6 separate regions of the Homo sapiens genome follow, and all the other regions are linked to region 4. The links are contacts of gene promoters, found by promoter capture Hi-C in blood cells and fetal thymus (Javierre and others, 2016). All regions are on one chromosome and are shown on one strand. Each heading gives the region's core, a stretch centred on a gene start or on the middle of the fragment in contact. The rest is flanking DNA. Distances are from core to core; before and after follow the strand shown. Region 1 overlaps CSMD2 (CUB and Sushi multiple domains 2). Region 2 overlaps ZSCAN20 (zinc finger and SCAN domain containing 20). Region 3 overlaps YARS1 (tyrosyl-tRNA synthetase 1). Region 4 holds the start of AZIN2 (antizyme inhibitor 2). Region 5 overlaps ZBTB8OS (zinc finger and BTB domain containing 8 opposite strand). Region 6 overlaps PHC2 (polyhomeotic homolog 2).

Region 1 (2,730 bases), core at 176-2,675, 490 kb before region 4:
TGAATGTGTCTACACTGTGTTTGTGGGAACAGATGGCGGAGAACTGGTTTCACCCTGAGGCTCCCTCCCATATATTTTGAGCTACAGCTTCTTTGCACTTCTATCTTTATTCCTTCTTCCAAACTTAAAAAAAAAAAGAAGAAAAAACTCTTCTGCTGATGATCCTCCCATTTTCTTTTTTATTATGATACTTTACCCTTTAATTAGTTTTTACTAATAAAAGGACCTTGGGAGGGGAGGAAGGATAAAAATAGTTTCTCAGAATACCATCTTAAAACAAATGCTCATGACATTGTTTTCCTTTTGCTAGCTCTTTCCTGTGGGCTTCCTGAGGCCCCCAAGAATGGAATGGTGTTTGGCAAGGAGTACACAGTGGGAACCAAGGCCATGTACAGCTGCAGTGAAGGCTACCACCTCCAGGCAGGCGCTGAGGCCACTGCAGAGTGTCTGGACACAGGCCTATGGAGCAACCGCAATGTCCCACCACAGTGTGTCCGTGAGTCCTCGGGCAATGGAGGCGGGTGTAAGGAAGGGCTAGGTAGGCAGCTGGAAAGATTCCTGCAAGGAGTGAGCTAAAAGCAAAGTAATGAGGGGGAAAAAAAAAAAAAAACATGGACATGGAGGTTGGAGGATTTCAGAAGAGGAGGCAGGTGCTGAAACTGCTCTCAGCATTGATAACCATTGTGCCCTAAGATGTTTCCACAAACCACCATGGAACTTAGGAATGGCCTGGTCCACTCCCTTTTAGATGGAAAACCTGTCAGAAAGTTTGCATGAATGTCCCTTGATTCCAAAGCTCTAAAAACAACAACTTTTAGGCCAGATCACAAAATGGCAACCTCCTCGACTATGTCCCATCCAAAGACAGAGGTTTTTGTTTTGTTTTGTTTTTTGGCCTACACGGTGCTTTATAACAAATTTTGAATTACTCCACAATCTTTTAAAATCAAGAAATTTTACATTAAAATCCAGATTTCTGTCTTCTCTTGAAAAATGAAAATCTAATCAAATGCAACTCAAACATTCAATAGTCAACCTTGACTGAGTACTATTTCCCTTTTTTAATTTTTAATTTTTTAGCAGAACTGTACTCCCCAGTTTGCCACATCCCCCACCCAACCCACCTGTTCATTTACCAAACCTGCCTGAGAACTGAAGATTCCTGGATTCTTCATTATTGCATTAAGGTCTCCAAGTCCCTAGATCTGGGCTCTTACAAGGTCTTCCAGAATTAATCAAGTAATTAATCCTCCTTTCTTTTCCTCATTTCCCCAGCTGTGACTTGTCCTGATGTCAGTAGCATCAGCGTGGAGCATGGCCGATGGAGGCTTATCTTTGAGACACAGTATCAGTTCCAGGCCCAGCTGATGCTCATCTGTGACCCTGGCTACTACTATACTGGCCAAAGGGTCATCCGCTGTCAGGCCAATGGCAAATGGAGCCTCGGGGACTCTACGCCCACCTGCCGAAGTAAGCCCAGGAAGGGAGGGTGGGCAAGTTTAGCAGGGTCCCTCCTACCTAAGCTGTCTCATGCATGGAGTGAACTGGGGTGGGGGAAAAAGGGGTATCACCAGGGATTGCAGTGTACTGCTTTTTAAACTCTCATCTAGTAGAATCAGGAGCTGGGAAAATGCCTACTCCTTTACTCCTTTAAGGAAGTATTTCTTAGCATCTTCTCATCTTATCAAAAGCTGCTTTTGTCCAGATGAGCATGCACTAATTCATTTCTTTAATATTCTTAGGCTCTTACTATATGCCAGACACTGTAGAGGTTTGAAGATAAAAGATTTTGGTTCCTGCCCACAAGGACTTTATAGTCTACTGGAGAGGCAGACACATAAAGAAGTGATGATAATGTGGTGCGATAAGACCTGAAATGGGAGTGTATATAGGAGGAATGAGGGTAGCACAGGCGACAGGTCACCTAAACCTGCCTGCCTTCTCCATTGTCAATTGTTTTTCTTTGGTTCTTTAATACACTTTCAAAGGTCGGAATCTCTGGGAAGACACTCTGAGACAGAGGCTTATTAGGGGGTGCTCTTGAGAACACCACCTACAGAAGGGAAAGGAGGGAAGGAAGCAGGACTGGGCAGAAGGAGAATTGAGCTCTGATGCAGTATCCATGAAAGCCTTAGCTCACCCCCCAGGGAGCTCTGGATGGCCCTTCAGAATTGTCACAAGTTGGAGCAAGGGAACTGTTATACTGCCACACTGACCAGCCACTGGATGCAGGCTGGCCTAGGAATGGGACATGACCTTCCTAGGTGGGAGGACTCCTCAACCACAGCAATCTGAAAAGGGCTGCCAGCCAAGGGTTGTTTTCCAGCAGCTGGGGAAATAAGTCCCTCGGTCCTAAAAGGGGCTCTGAGTAGCTCATCGCAGCATGCACTACGATAGGGATATGCTCATCATATTTATGTGACCAATGCAGATGTCACAGAGGAGGCAAGTGATTGTAAAGAGGTAGAAGGAAGTGGTCAGTGAGAAGTGGGAGTTTGAAACTGGGAAGGAGGAGAAATGGTGTCTTCCAATGCCTGTGATCCAGGTTGGGCATAGATCCCAGCATTTGAGAGGCTGAAGTGGGTGGATCACTTGAGGTCAGGAGTTCGAGACCAGCCTGGCCGACATGGTGAAACCCTGTCTCTACTAAAAAAAAAAAAAAAAAAAATTAGCCAGCATGGTGGTGCCCACCTGTAATCCCAGCTACTTGGGAGGCTGAGGCAAAAGAAT
Region 2 (2,712 bases), core at 208-2,707, 400 kb before region 4:
GTCCCACATAAAGATAGTCGACTGAACTTTGATAAACGAGCAAAGGTAATACAGTGAAGCAAATATATTTTCAACAAATGATACTAAAACTGGACATCCACATGAAAAAAAAAAAAAGCTTCTATCCTATCCTTCACAAAAATCAACTCAAAATGGATCACAGACCTTAACGTTAAAATGAAAAACTATAAAATTCCTAAAATATAGGAGAAAACTGAGATAATGTCAGGTATAGCAATGACTTTTCAGATACAAAATCAAAGGCATAATCCATGAAAGAAATAATTGATAAGCTGGACTTCGTTAAAATTAAAAAATACTGCTCTATGAAAGATACTGTCAAGAGAATGAGAAGACAAGCCACAGACTGGGAGAATATATTTGCAAAACACATATCTGATAAAGGACCGTTACCCCGAACATACAAAGAACTCTTAAAACTCAAGAGTAAGAAGACAAACAACCCAATTTAAAAATGGGCAAGACTTTAACAGTCACCACACCAAAGAAAATATACAGATGGCAAGTAAACATATGAAAACATGTATAACATGGTAGGTTATTGGTGAATTGCAAATTCGAACAACAATAAAATACCACTATCTACCTATTAGAATGGCCAAAATCCAAAACACCAAATGCTGGCAAGGATGTGGGGCAACAAGAACTCCCATTCATTGCTAGTAAAAATGCAAAATGGTACAGCCACTTTGGATGACAGTTTGGCAATTTCTTACAAAGGTAAACATACTCTTACCATATGATCCAGCAATCATGTCCCTTGGTATTTACCCAAATGAACTGAAAACTAGGTCCACACAAAAACCTGCATATGAATATTTACAGCAGCTTCATACATAACTGCCAAAACTTTGATGGAACCAAGATGTCCTTCAGTAGGTGAGTAGATAAATAAACTGTGGTACATCCACACAACGGAATATTGTTAAGCATTAAAGAGAAATGAGCTAACAAGCCATGAAAAGACGTGGAGGAAACTTAAATGTATACTACTAAGTAAAAGAAGCCAATCTGAAAGGGCTATATACTGTATGATTCCAACTATGTAACATTTTTTAAAAGGCAAAACTATGGAGACAGTATAAAGATCGGTGTTGCCAGGGGTTGGGGGGAAGGAAGAATAAACAGGTAGAACACAGAGGGTTTTTACAGCAGTGAAGCTACTCTGTATGTCACTACAATGGTAGATACATGTTACTATGTCACTATGATGGTAGATACAGTTTATAATAGGGCTCTTAATGTCATACATTACAGAATGAATAACATTAAGAGCCCTAACATAAACTGCTACTTTGAGTGATGATAATGATGTATCACTGTAGGTTCATCAATGGTAATAAACATATTGCTCTGGTGCAGGGATGTTGATAGTTAGGGAGGCTTGTCGGGGAGGGATGGGAACTCTCTGTACCTTCTGCTCAATTTTGCTGTGAGTTTGAGCCTAAAATTGCTCTAAAAAATAAAGCCTGTTTTTTAAAAATCCCTGTGCACCTGATGGAGAGGGGGCATCTGACAGAGAGGGGGATTCAACAAGATGGTGATGACAGAAGAAACAAGTAACAATCACAAAATAGCAGAGCTGAAAGATCCCTTTTAGGAAATTACCTTAGGGGCCATTTAGTCCTGTAGGCACCAACCTTTTTCAGGTTCACTTTGAGGAATATTATAACTATATTTCATCCCATTATTAAGACTTGAAAAATTTTACTTGCAGAGAATGCAACTAAGTTATATATCTTGCAATGTAAGATCACAAGCTACATTTGCACCTGAAAAAAACAAGCTCCTCTGCTACTTGTCCATTTGTTTTGAAATTTGTGACCACTCAGGAGCAGGTAGGAAAGTTTAAAAATAAAAAAAGTCACAGTAAAAACAAAAATACATAATAGACAAGATTCCATTACCTTATTTTTTTCTCAATTTTAGAAGCAGTTCAACTTTTGGTCAGCTCACAGGGGCATAATTTGAGAACCTTTGGTCTAATCCAACCCTCTCATTTTACAGATGAAGAATCATAAAGACCTTGATTTAAATCCGTTTTCATCTCTGGGTCTCAAGTTCTTTATGTCCCAACTCTGAAGCCCTAAAACTTCCATTTGTTTCTTCACTGCCACTTAAGACAAACAGCTGGTTTCTTTAAAAGAAATAATATAGGGGGGTGGGGAGGTACATTAAAATAAGGCACACTCTCTCATACTTAGTTCTGTAACTTTATATATTAGTCTCCCTGTATCTTCAATCAGTTTGTAAAGGAATCCAAAGAGCAAAGTCACCGGTCTAAAACCTTTGCTCCCCCAACCTCACACTGTATAGAACTTTACAGTTTAAATGTACAGAAAACCCCTGCCATTTGCAAGGGATATGTTCCCAAACCTGTAATTTCCCCCAGCAAAATGGGGGTAAGTAAAATATCACAAGAATTACTAACTATAACAAGTAGAGAAAAAGTCATGTTTAGAGGAAGGTTCTGGATCCAGCTAAAGGATCTGTTCTACATATACCAGCTTTGAAGCAGGATTCAAAATGTGTGTCATAGCAAAATTATGCATTATATCATGGGCTTTCAGCGGTCACTTGCAAATTGTTGAAACTGCGAATGTTAAATCCATACTTTCATTTCCCTTACCTCAGCTCTATCACGTAGTTATATAAAGTTAGATAAGTTACTTACCTCTCCATCTCTGTTTA
Region 3 (2,700 bases), core at 2-2,501, 270 kb after region 4:
GGTGCACGCCTGTAATCCCAGTACTCAGGAGGCTGAGGCAGGATAATCGCTTGAACCCACGGGGCAGAGGTTGTGGTGAGCCGAGATCGCACCACTGCACTCCAGCCTGGGCAACAGAGCGAGACTCTGTTTCAAAAAAAAAAAAAAAATGGTGGGGGAGTGGGGGTTGCTGGATGCAGTGGCTCATGCCTGTAATCCCAGCACTTTGGGAGGCCAAGGCAGGAGAATCACTTGAGCTCAGGAATTCGAGACCAGAGTGGGCGTAGCGAGACCTCATCTCTACTAAAAATCAAAAAAATTAGCTAGGCATCATGGCATGCACCTGTAATCCCAGCTACTTGAGAGGCTGAGGTGGGAGGATCACTTGAGCTGAGATCAAAGCTTCAGTGACTATGATTGTGCCATTATACTGCAACCTGGGCAACAGAGCAAGATCCTGTCTCAAAAACAAAAAAACATGGAAATAGATTGGGAAATTTTGATATCAGTTGAAAAGGCATTCCAAATGAAGAGACTGAAGGAGAATGGCAGAGAAGCAGTGTTTCAAGAGATAATGGCAGAACGTTTTCCAGAAGTGAAGAAAAATACTAATTGAAGCCCTCTTTTAAAAAGAAAAACAAGCCCGCTACTGTGGCTTGTTTTCCCAGCACTTTGGTAGGCTGGGGTGGGCAGATTGCTCGAGCCCAGCAGTTCCAGACCAGCCTGGGCAATGGGGGGAAACCACGTCTCTACAAAAAATAGAAAAATTAGCCAGGTGTGGTGGCACATGCCTATAGTCCTAGTTCCTTTGGAGGTTGAGGTGGGAGGATCACCTGAGCCCAGGGAGATTGAGGCTGCAATGAGCTGTGATCACACCACTGTGTTCCAGCCCAGGTGACAGAGTGAGACCCTGTCTCAAAAAAAAAAATAAAAGGAAAAACATAAAAATAAAGTAATATTTTAGATGAGAAGATAGGTCTATCACATTTTAGAAGCTACCAGGCAGTGCTCTGTTTGAATGTCCTAATGTAACTGGACCCAGGTTTGGCTGCCCGGCCACTTGAAAGCCCGACACAAGAGATATGGGTTGGTAGGAGGAAAAGCAGGTTTGATCAGAAAGCCAACAAACCGAGAAGATGGTGAACTAGTGTTCTAAAGTACTATCTTAAATTCTAAATGTTACCATAGTGTTTTTAAAGGGAGACTTGGTGTGGGAGACATGCAGGAGTGGTGAGAATGCAGGGTCTGTCTGTCTTTGTTCTGATGGCTGTCTTGCATAATTGCCTGTCAGGAGGTATGGTTGGTGTTATCTTGACTTCAGACTGATGGTGATGGACTAATCGTTCCAGACTCCCTCTGAGCAGGAGGATTCTGCAGTCTGGGCTCCATGCCTAGTTTGTTTCAAGATTAGCTTCTGTGATTTCTTTTTTTCCAACTTTTATTTTAGATTCAAGGGGTGCATGTGCAGGTTTGTTACATGTCACAGGAGTTTGGTGTACAGACAATTTTGTCACCCAGGTAATCAGCACAATACCCAATAGGTAGTTTTTGAATCCTCACCCTCCTCTCTGAAATTTCTTAAGCAAGAACATAATTAAATAAGCATGCATTGCCAGAAGGGAGGGAAAGAAGAAGAAAGTTGGTGATTAAAATATATTTTTAAAACCGAGATCCCTGGTTACACTAAGGTTAGGGAAGTAAATTAATGTGCTTTAGATTTCCTAGGAAACTGAGGCCTAGGCCCAGGTTTACAGCTGTCCCCTCTTCCTTTCCTCTTCAGAGAGTACACACTAGATGTGTACAGACTCTCCTCCGTGGTCACACAGCACGATTCCAAGAAGGCTGGAGCTGAGGTGGTAAAGCAGGTGGAGCACCCTTTGCTGAGTGGCCTCTTATACCCCGGACTGCAGGTACTTAAGGGGGATGGAGTGGCCCGATGACCTTTTCTGCTCTGGTTTGATGACAGGCATATCTTATTGCACTTTGCTTTACTGCACTACGCAGATATTGTGTTTTTTACAAATTGAAGGTGTGTGGCAACCCTGTGTACAGCAAGTCCACCAGCACCATTTTTCCAACAGCATGTGCTCACTTCGTGTCTCTGTGCTACATTTTGGTAATTCTCACAGTATTTCAAGCTTTTTCATTATTATCATATCTGCATGGTGATATGCGATCTGTTACCTTTGATGTTAAATATTGTAATTGTTTTGGGGCACCACAAACTGTGCCCGTATAAGACAACGAACTTAATAAGTATTGTGTGTGTTCTGACTACTCTACCATCCAGCCATTTCCTCACTCTCCTGGCCTCCTCATTTCCTAAAACACAACAATATTGAAATTAGGCTAATTAATAACCCTACAATGGCCTCTAAGTGTTGAAAGGGAGAGTCACACATAGCTCACTTTATTTATTTATTTATTTTTGAGACGGAATCTCGCTGTGTCGCCCAGGCTGGAGTGCAGTGGCGAAATCTCGGCTCACTGCAACCTCCGCCTCCCGGGTTCAAGCAATTCTCTGCCTCAGCCTCCCGAGTAGCTGGGATTACAGGCGCCTGCCACCATGCCCGGCTGATTTTTTTTGTATTTTTAGTAGAGATGGGGTTTCACCATCTTGGCCAGGCTGGTCTTGAACTCTTGACCTCATGATCCACCCACCTTGGCCTCCCACAGTGCTGGGATTATAGACGTGAGCTACCGTGCCCGGCCGCACATCTG
Region 4 (2,700 bases), core at 38-2,537:
AGATGAGGGCCCTAGGGACCCTTCCTGAGGAGGCAGCTGATCTGTACAGGGGACCGGGGACCCACCCCCATTCCCAGCCCCTCACCGTGGTGGCCTGTGAGGCCCCCAGAGTGAGTTCCTTCAGCAGGTCTCGGGTACTGAAGCCCTCCTCCACCATCACAAAGTCCGATTCACTCAGGTAGCCAGCCATGCCTTGCAGGAGGAGCTGACGGGCTGGATGGAGCCGCTGCTGCAGCCGCCGCCTTAGAAAGTATGCAACACACTGCGGGGCGAGGGGAGATGAAGGGAACCGCTGGGGGGCCGGCTCTGCTGCCCCACTCGCCTCCCGAGGCCAGGGATCCCAATCCCGTCACAACCCGCCCCCAGCACAAGCCCGGGGTTCACTGGGCAAGGGTGGAGAAAGTCAAGAATCCCGGATTTCAGACGGAGACAAGGCACCGTATGCCCAAATGTCACTGCCTCTCCGAGTCAGTTGCTCCCTCTGTAAAATGGATGAATTGTTTTGGAGAGCCTTCCCAGTTCTGAAATTCTGGATTTCAGGAAAGAGTGAGAGAGAGATGGAACAGAAAATCTGAGAAACTTGGGTGGGGAAGTTTCCAGGGCGCCCCCAGTCTTGACCACGCCCACCTAGAGGGTAGCCGGTGGCCACATCAAGGCGTCTCAGCCTAAGAGCAAGAGCTTAAGTTCGAGTCCGCTCTCTACTGCTTGACCTCGGGTACCCTCTGACCCTTTCGGAGCCGCAGTTTCCCCAATTGTAAATGGGGGCTGGACTGATCCTGAGGTGCTAGAATTCTAGGCGTGCCTGGGGACGCCACGCGGTGGGTGGGGGCCGCAAGCTCCTGGGAGAGAACGGAAGGCCGAGGTTTTTTCTGTCCGAGTGACTCCTACAGAGTGCAGGGCTGAGGTCCCCCCAACCCCCAGGGCCCCTTACCAAACTCCGTCCTCCTTCGCGGGGGCCAGAGCCAGGCGCGCTGCTAGGGGGGGTCGCCGGTGACCTCGAAACTTGTGCAACACCCCGAGGAGGAGTGGCAGTTGCGGAGCCGAGGCCTCTGCTGACAGGAGGCAGAAGGGGCAGGGAGGCAGGTCAGCACCAGGGCGGAGGGCGTCCGCTCCCCGAGGCTCCCCAGGCCACTTTCCGCACTCGCCTTAAAACGCATTTACACGGCTTCGGCCCATAGGTCTCCCCAGGGAGTGAATCGGATCCTCGGCGCCTCCGCTCTCTCGCTTCCCCGGGCTCGGGTCCCGCGGCCTGCGCCCCGCCAGCCCAGCAGCCACAGACCCCCACGCCCCGCCTTCCGCCCGCCGCTGGCTTATATAACCCCGCCCAGGCCCCGCCCATAGTGCCGAGGCCCTACCTCCGCTTGGCCGTAGCCCTGGCAACCGGGTGCCGCCATCCCATTGGTCGATTCCGACATAAAGCATTCAGCTCTGCTCGCCCTTACTGTAGTCTTCTCCCCCGGAGGCCTGGCGGTGGCTACCTCACGCTGGAAGTCAGAACTACAGGGCCGCCGCCACGCAGGTGAGACACTTAGACCCTGCATCTTAGGTCTTAGAGAGTGGGCAGGACCAGGAAGCCTTTTCTGCCTCTGCCTCAACTTACTTCGTGGTCCAGCTCTTGTCTGCGTCAGGAACTGCTCACTCATCTCTCGAAACCCGGTTCCAATGACATGTCCTTGTATTACTTTTGTAATAAAATTCTTTTTATTTAATTGCCTCTTCCAGGCATCTTCCCCGACTCCAACTCAAAACGCATCTAAAATGTCTTCAGAGAACCTTTTTGTGACTTTCCCAGTTCAGGGCAATCCCTCCCTTTATCCCATCCTGTGAACCCGGCAAACTCTTACTCATCTCTCAATAGAAATGTGTCTCCTTCTCCAAGAAGCTTTCCCGGACTTCCTCAACTCAAAGCATTTCTTCTATACCGAAAGCTGCTGCTCACCCATCAAAGTCCTGTATAATGTCACCTCTGTTGAACCTTCCATGACTTGCCTGGCCCCAAGGAACACAGCATTTAGTCTGTCTGGACCCCTCACTCATTTGGTTCTTGTTACCCATAGCGTGAGATTCCTGTTGTTATTTTACACTTCTTGTTTGGTTACACTTTGCATCTAGTTTGTGATTTCCCAAGGGCAAGGACTGAATACCCTGCTCAAGAGCCTGGTGCCTGGCATAGACAAGAATGCTGAGGAAGATTCAATAGCTGTGTTACTCAAAAGCTGATATAAAAGTTCATCTGGAAAAGTAAGTGTACAAGAACAGTCAAGACACTCTTTTTGCCCAGGCTGGAGTGCAATGGCACGATCTCAGCTCACTGCAACCTCTGCCTCCTGGGTTCAAGCGATTCTCCTGCCTCAGCCTCCCAAGTAACTGGGATTATAGGCGCATGCCACCACGCACAGCTAATTTTGTATTTTCAGTAGAGATGGGGTTTCACCATATTGGCCAGGGTGGTCTTGAACTCCTGACCTCCAGTAATCTACCCGCCCCGGCCTCCCAAAGTGCTGGGATTATAGGCGTGAGCCACCGCGCCCGGCCAAAACTACAGTCTTTAAAACAGTATGGTGCTGGAGCAGGAAGAGACAGTGGTAAAACAGAACAGGGTCTACAACAGTCCCATATACATTGGAGATTGGTACACAATGGAGGCAGCATTTCAAATCAATGAAGCCAAAGGGCTTTTGGTCTACCATATGTCTTCAT
Region 5 (2,700 bases), core at 49-2,548, 450 kb after region 4:
GAGGTTGCAGTGAGCCAAGATTGTGCCACTGCACTCCAGCCTGGCAACAGCGCGAGACTCTGGCTCAAAAAAAAAAAAAAAAAAAAAAGAAACAAGCATGTCCAAAAGTACTAGCTAATAAGTGTTTGAACAGAATTTTAAAGCTTTGCTCTTTCTATTATACCACGTTGTGATCTTCACTCACATTAGTGTCAAAGACAGAGAGGAGACTGATCCTAAGTTCTAGATTACTTTTCTAGGGCCTTCTATATACAGATCATGGATATTTTTGGAAAAGTTGTAAAGTGTAAACCAAGTTCGGACTGTATTATAGAGTCTAGTATTTTGCCTTTGTGGTACTCAGACTTGCTTTCTCCAGTGGGAGGTATTATTTAATTAGTTTTTGTTTTTCTTTTTTGTTTTGTTTTTGTTGTTTTTGTTTTGAGAGAGGGTTTTGCTTTGTCTCTCAGCCTGGAGTGCAGTGGCATGATCATGGCTCACTGCAGCCATGACCTTTTGGGCTCAAGCAATCCTCCTACCTCAACCTCCCACCTAGCTAGGACAACAGACATATGCCACCATGCCTGGCTAATTTTTTTTTTTAATCTTTTGTAGAGACAGGGTCTCGCTACATTGCCCAGGCTGGTCTCAAACCCCTGAGCTCAAGCTATCTTCCTGCCTCAGTCTCCCAAAGTGCTGAGATTACAGGTGTGAGCCACCGCACCCAGCCTACTTAACTAGTTTCATAACTGAGGATAGTAAAAATTTTGAATATGTTACTACTCTGTTTTGAAACAATATTTACTAAACAATGTTTATTGAGATTCCACCATAGGTACACTATATTGGGGCACATTTATTTTGAGATCAACTATCAACCTTTTTTTAAAGTTTTTAAAATTAATTTTTTGTTTGTTTGTTTTTTAGACAGTCTCACTCTGTTGCCCAGGCTGGGAGTGCAATGATGTGATCTTGGTTCACTGCAATGTCCGCCTCCCAGATTCAAACCATTCTTGTGCCTCAGCCTCCCGAGTAGGTGGGACCACGGGCGCATGGAACCATGCCTGCCTAATTTTTGTATTTTTAGTAGAGACGAGTTCTCACCATGTTGGCCAGGCTGGTCTTGAACTCCTGGATTCATCTACCTCTGCCTCCCAAAGTGCTGGGATTACAGGTGGGAGCCACTGTGCCTGGCCACTAGAATTAAATTTTTTTTTTTTTTTGAGACAGAGTCTCGCTCTGTTGCCCAGGCTGGAGTGCAGTGGCATGATCTCAGCTCACTGCAATCTCCGCCTCCTGGCTCAAGCGATTCTCCTGCCTCAGCCTCCTGAGTAGTTCGGATTACAGGTGCCTACCACCACGCCTGGCTAATTTTTGTATTTTTAGTAGAGACAGAGTTTCATCATGTTGGCCAGGCTGGTCTTGAACTCCTGACCTCAGGTGATCCGCCTACCTCGGCCTCCCAAAGTGCTGGGATTACAGGCATGAGCCACCGCGCCTGACCTTTTTCATTTCGCTCTGTTGCCTAGGGTGGAGTGCAGTGGCGCGATCTTGGCTCACTGCAACCTCCACCTCCTGGGTTCAAGCGATTCTCCTGCCTCTGCCTCCCAAGTAGCTGGGATTACAGACATGCGCCACCACGCCCGGCTAATTTTGTGTTTTTAGTAGAGACAGGGTTTTTCCATGTTGGTCAGGCTGGTCTCAAACTGCCGACCTCAACTGCCGACCTCAGATGATCCACCTGCTTCGGCCTCCCAAAGTGCTGGGGTTACAGGCATGAGCCACCGCGCCTGGCCTATAATTAAAAATTCTTTTGAAACACAGTCTTGCCCTGACACCCAGGCTAGAGTGCGGTGGTGCAATCACAGCTCACTGCAGCCTTGACTTCTGGGCTCAAGCAATCTTCCTGCCTCCTCCTCGTGAGTGGCTGGGACCACAGGCATGTGCCACCACACCCAGCTAACTTTTTTTATTTTTTTAATTTTGTGTACAGATGAGGTCTCCCTATGTTGCTCAGGCTGTTCTCAAACTCCTGGGCTCAAGCGATCCTCCCTTTGGCCTCCGGAAGTGCCAGGATTATAGGTATGAGCCACCGCACCTGGCCTTAACTATCAACCTTGAGAGCAAATGATGACACTGCACACACGTCCCTCAACAGCTGTATCTTCTGACAAATGAAAATGAAACTTAACAGCTCCCTGACCCCCTCCTGTCTCTTTTGGCTTTCTAGCATGTTAACCACATTTACAAGGCTTATTTTAAAACATATAAAGAGAGAACAAATCTTAATCATGTTTTAATTTGTATTCTCAAGGTGGGGAGAAGAATTTTCATTGTCCAAGCACCCTCAGGTATGTTTTAAAATCCAGCCATTAAGAACATGAAAAATTTCCTTACCATAAAGTTCATATATGTGACAATCAACTTCAGTTAGTTCTAACTGGTGTAAAGTGATAAGTTTTTCTCAAGCTTCTCTGACCTGTCTGGATATATTTTGTTAAAATACTGTGATTATACACACCTGATTTAGTGGATGAGGCGTCAGCATTGGGTTCTAGGGTCAAGTTTGTTCAGATTATTGTGGAATTTGAAATTCTCTTTGCCTTTTTGACCTTTATTTCTTCTCCTATAATAAAGATGTTGGACTAGATGTTCTCTATTGTGCCTTCTACTTTCTGTGTGTCTCTAGATTCTGTATTTGCCGACCTGTATGGCCTCACT
Region 6 (2,700 bases), core at 6-2,505, 320 kb before region 4:
GTCCTAGTCACACTCATAATGCAGGACAGAGGTGGATCCTATTCAGGCCTGAATACCCCAACCCCACACACTGTTTTGTTCTACTGTTCACTTTGTACATCTGTAGTAGAATTTTTCACATTTTGCCTTGTATATAGTTTCATTGTTCTTCCAATACTGTAAAACTCCTTGAACTCTGGACCCAGACTGCCTGAAGAAAGAAACCGTGTCTTTTTCACCTACCCTCCAAGCAACAATCAGCGAGGCTATCGAGGTCAACTGGACTTGCCCCAAGAACACTTCATGGTCAATGTCTGGGTCAGGAATTGACTTTAGCCAACTGTGCCCTCTGTTGTGAAGCCATCCTAGAAACCAGTGCCTCCCATCTGTGTGTGCTTTCTAGCTCTGAAAACTACCAAAAAGTCCCTGTATCTACTGGAATATAGCTTTGGGAAACCAAGAATGCCTGCAGCCCCTCGTTCAGCAGGTACTTCAATGCAGAGGACCAATGTGGGCAGAACTGCACTACCAGCTTGTGAATGAATGTTCAGATGGGAAGTGAGCATCTTTTCCCTTATGTTTTGTGCTAAGAATACTGTGATGTTGAAGCCCAGATACTTTAAGATACATAGACATTTGGAAAATAAAGAAAAGGATAAATGAGAAAATAAAAATCAGCAGTAACACTATCACCCAAAGCAGCCATTGTTAACATTTGGTATCTATCCTCCCAGCTAAGCTATACATTAAATAACATGTACTTAACAATGGGATTATATTATGCATATTACATTTGTAACAAGCTTAGTGCCATTTTGATTGGTTATTCCAAATCTAGGGGAAGCCTATTAGACAAAAGTTCTCTCCTTCCTCTGGCTGTGATTTACTGGGGGTAGAGGTGGGGTTTAAATCATAATTACACTTACTTAATGTCATTTAAAATGTTGCAAAGCATTTCACATCCTGCTGAGGAATCTGATAGTGCTGAAGCAAGACCAGAGTCTACCTCTGCACTCAAGCCTTAGAGCCTTTCCACAATGCTTTTCAGTTTCAGGTTTCAGGAGGAAAGAGAAGCAAAAAGCAGTGCTATCATAAGCAGGGCTAGATGATCTAATGGCAGAGCCAGATGGGGTCTTGTTTTTAGTTGCAATCTGTCTGAGGCATTCTTGTAATATTATTTAACAATTAATTTTTAAGTATTTTTTTACATGCACAGGGAACAAAGTCCAAAAGATTCAAAAGAGTATACGGTGAAAAGCATGCCTCCCCCTACTCCCCGGGAGGCATCACTGTCTGCGATTTCTTGTGTATCCTTATCTGAAGCATTTTGAGTTCAAAGGGCAGGCAAGCATTTGCAGAGGTCATCAAGGGTATTTTCCTTTGTCGCATCAGTATTCTCTGCAGAGGTCATCCTGGTAACCAGGCTTCATAACCCCCAACAATATTCCAAAGGAATATCTCCTTTCAAAGTGCATGGTGGATGTACCCTGAGGCAGAGCCAAAATCACCCACTGAGACCACCCCAAACAAAGAGGGCAGAGAGCTGCCGTGCTGCCAGAGGAACAGACTCAGGAGGGCCACAGCTGAATCTGGACCAGTCTCAGAGTCAGGAGACCGAGGCCTCATCTGGTCTCTGCCATGGATGGACTGTAAGCAAGTTACTTAACCTTTCTGCGAAGTCTCCTCCTTGTCTAACAGGGTAAGATTATAATTAAGAGGATGGCTCAAAACAATTCCTCTTAAGCTTTAATGTGCACGTGAATGACCCAGAGGATCTTGTTGCAATGCTCATTCAGATTCAGCAGGTCTGGGGTGGGGCCCAAGATTCTGCATTTTCAACATGCTCCAAAGACTCAAGAAGTGGCCCTCAACTACTGGCCTGTGACCTGTTCCCGGGACTAAGCACCTGGTAATGTTTACTTCAGAGCTGAGCAGCTCCCTCTGGAGAACCCTGGCATTCAATTTCCTAAGATTTTTATTTGACCTCTGGTGCCTGGTGATGGTGCTGCTGCCAGACCCTGTGCTGAATGCTCTGAATATATGGTTCCTCTCATTGTCCCAGCTACTCAGTGAAGTAGGTGTTGTGATTATCCCCATTTCACAGATGAGGAAACTAAGGCTTAGAGAGGTGAATGTGCTCAATATTACACAGCTGGTAAGAGGCAGAGCAGGCCTTCCCACAGACCATCTGATTCCAGACTCCTCGTGTTAACACTAAACCAAAGAGCGAGTGGCATTCTCCATTTCAGCCTTGAAAGTGAACACCATAGGAAGTGCTGTACCAAGGGGCCTCCTCTTGTGTCTGTGTGGGAGGAGGACGCTGCTGTCCGTCAGCTCAGAGTGTCTCCTCCAAAGAAATGCATCTCAGCTTGCAAAGCCTCTACCTCAAATTTTTGTGAAAACTCTTCAAGGATTCTGACCGCAGCTCTTATCAGTTACGGGGCAGGAAGCCGCCTTCCACAAGCCACTCTCTCCCCATACCAGAGGGTTCCTTGGCTGTGAACAGCACTTAGATTGTGTCAGAGGAAGGCCATGGGCTTTAACAGGCCACATCCATTTTCATTTACCTTCTGAAAGAAGATTAAGGAGAAAATTCAATTTTGCCTAATGCCTCCCCCAAATGGCTAATTTATATGCTAATTAGCAAGATAGGGATCGATGAAACTGGTAATCAATATGATATCCAAGGCAATGGTAATGAAATTCATTCTGAGATGCACT

What was found. The method cuts DNA at HindIII sites, captures the fragments that hold promoters and counts their contacts. A CHiCAGO score of 5 or more calls a contact.
Region 1: a contact is called between a fragment that was not itself captured here and the fragment with the promoter of AZIN2 in region 4, in 1 of 17 cell types (M2 macrophages). The highest score is 5.3, in M2 macrophages.
Region 2: a fragment that was not itself captured here is called in contact with the fragment with the promoter of AZIN2 in region 4 in 1 of 17 cell types (M2 macrophages); the score reaches 5.4 in M2 macrophages.
Region 3: a contact is called between a fragment that was not itself captured here and the fragment with the promoter of AZIN2 in region 4, in 1 of 17 cell types (M2 macrophages). The highest score is 6.3, in M2 macrophages.
Region 5: a contact is called between a fragment that was not itself captured here and the fragment with the promoter of AZIN2 in region 4, in 1 of 17 cell types (total CD8 T cells). The highest score is 5.4, in total CD8 T cells.
Region 6: a contact is called between a fragment that was not itself captured here and the fragment with the promoter of AZIN2 in region 4, in 1 of 17 cell types (neutrophils). The highest score is 5.2, in neutrophils.

What each region holds. Positions count from the first base shown.
Region 1 is chr1:33,570,272-33,573,001 of GRCh38, reverse strand. It overlaps CSMD2 (CUB and Sushi multiple domains 2), which reads left to right. Exons shown (of 71, transcript NM_001281956.2): 50 at 311-496; 51 at 1,276-1,470. Among named protein-coding and RNA genes, the nearest start is that of ZSCAN20, 99 kb to the right of the region's middle. The HindIII fragment of the contact is 4,858 bases long and covers 1-2,730 here.
Region 2 is chr1:33,480,659-33,483,370 of GRCh38, reverse strand. The region is part of intron 2 of ZSCAN20 (zinc finger and SCAN domain containing 20); the gene reads right to left. Among named protein-coding and RNA genes, the nearest start is that of ZSCAN20, 9.4 kb to the right of the region's middle. The HindIII fragment of the contact is 2,674 bases long and covers 121-2,712 here.
Region 3 is chr1:32,805,671-32,808,370 of GRCh38, reverse strand. YARS1 (tyrosyl-tRNA synthetase 1) reads left to right here. Exons shown (of 13, transcript NM_003680.4): 4 at 1,760-1,889. Among named protein-coding and RNA genes, the nearest start is that of YARS1, 10 kb to the left of the region's middle. The HindIII fragment of the contact is 1,736 bases long and covers 384-2,119 here.
Region 4 is chr1:33,079,740-33,082,439 of GRCh38, reverse strand. It overlaps AZIN2 (antizyme inhibitor 2), which reads right to left and starts at 1,287. Exons shown (of 12, transcript NM_052998.4): 1 at 1,146-1,287; 2 at 932-1,052; 3 at 628-839; 4 at 86-262. The coding sequence starts at 190. LOC105378635 (a long non-coding RNA gene) reads left to right here and starts at 1,444. Exons shown (of 3, transcript XR_947163.2): 1 at 1,444-1,519; 2 at 2,113-2,241. RefSeq lists a silencer at 1,066-1,325. The HindIII fragment of the contact is 16,354 bases long and covers 1-1,884 here.
Region 5 is chr1:32,627,138-32,629,837 of GRCh38, reverse strand. It overlaps ZBTB8OS (zinc finger and BTB domain containing 8 opposite strand), which reads left to right. Exons shown (of 7, transcript NM_178547.5): 6 at 2,294-2,330. Among named protein-coding and RNA genes, the nearest start is that of ZBTB8OS, 22 kb to the left of the region's middle. The HindIII fragment of the contact is 2,305 bases long and covers 146-2,450 here.
Region 6 is chr1:33,396,463-33,399,162 of GRCh38, reverse strand. All of the region lies in intron 1 of PHC2 (polyhomeotic homolog 2), which reads left to right. Among named protein-coding and RNA genes, the nearest start is that of PHC2, 33 kb to the left of the region's middle. The HindIII fragment of the contact is 941 bases long and covers 785-1,725 here.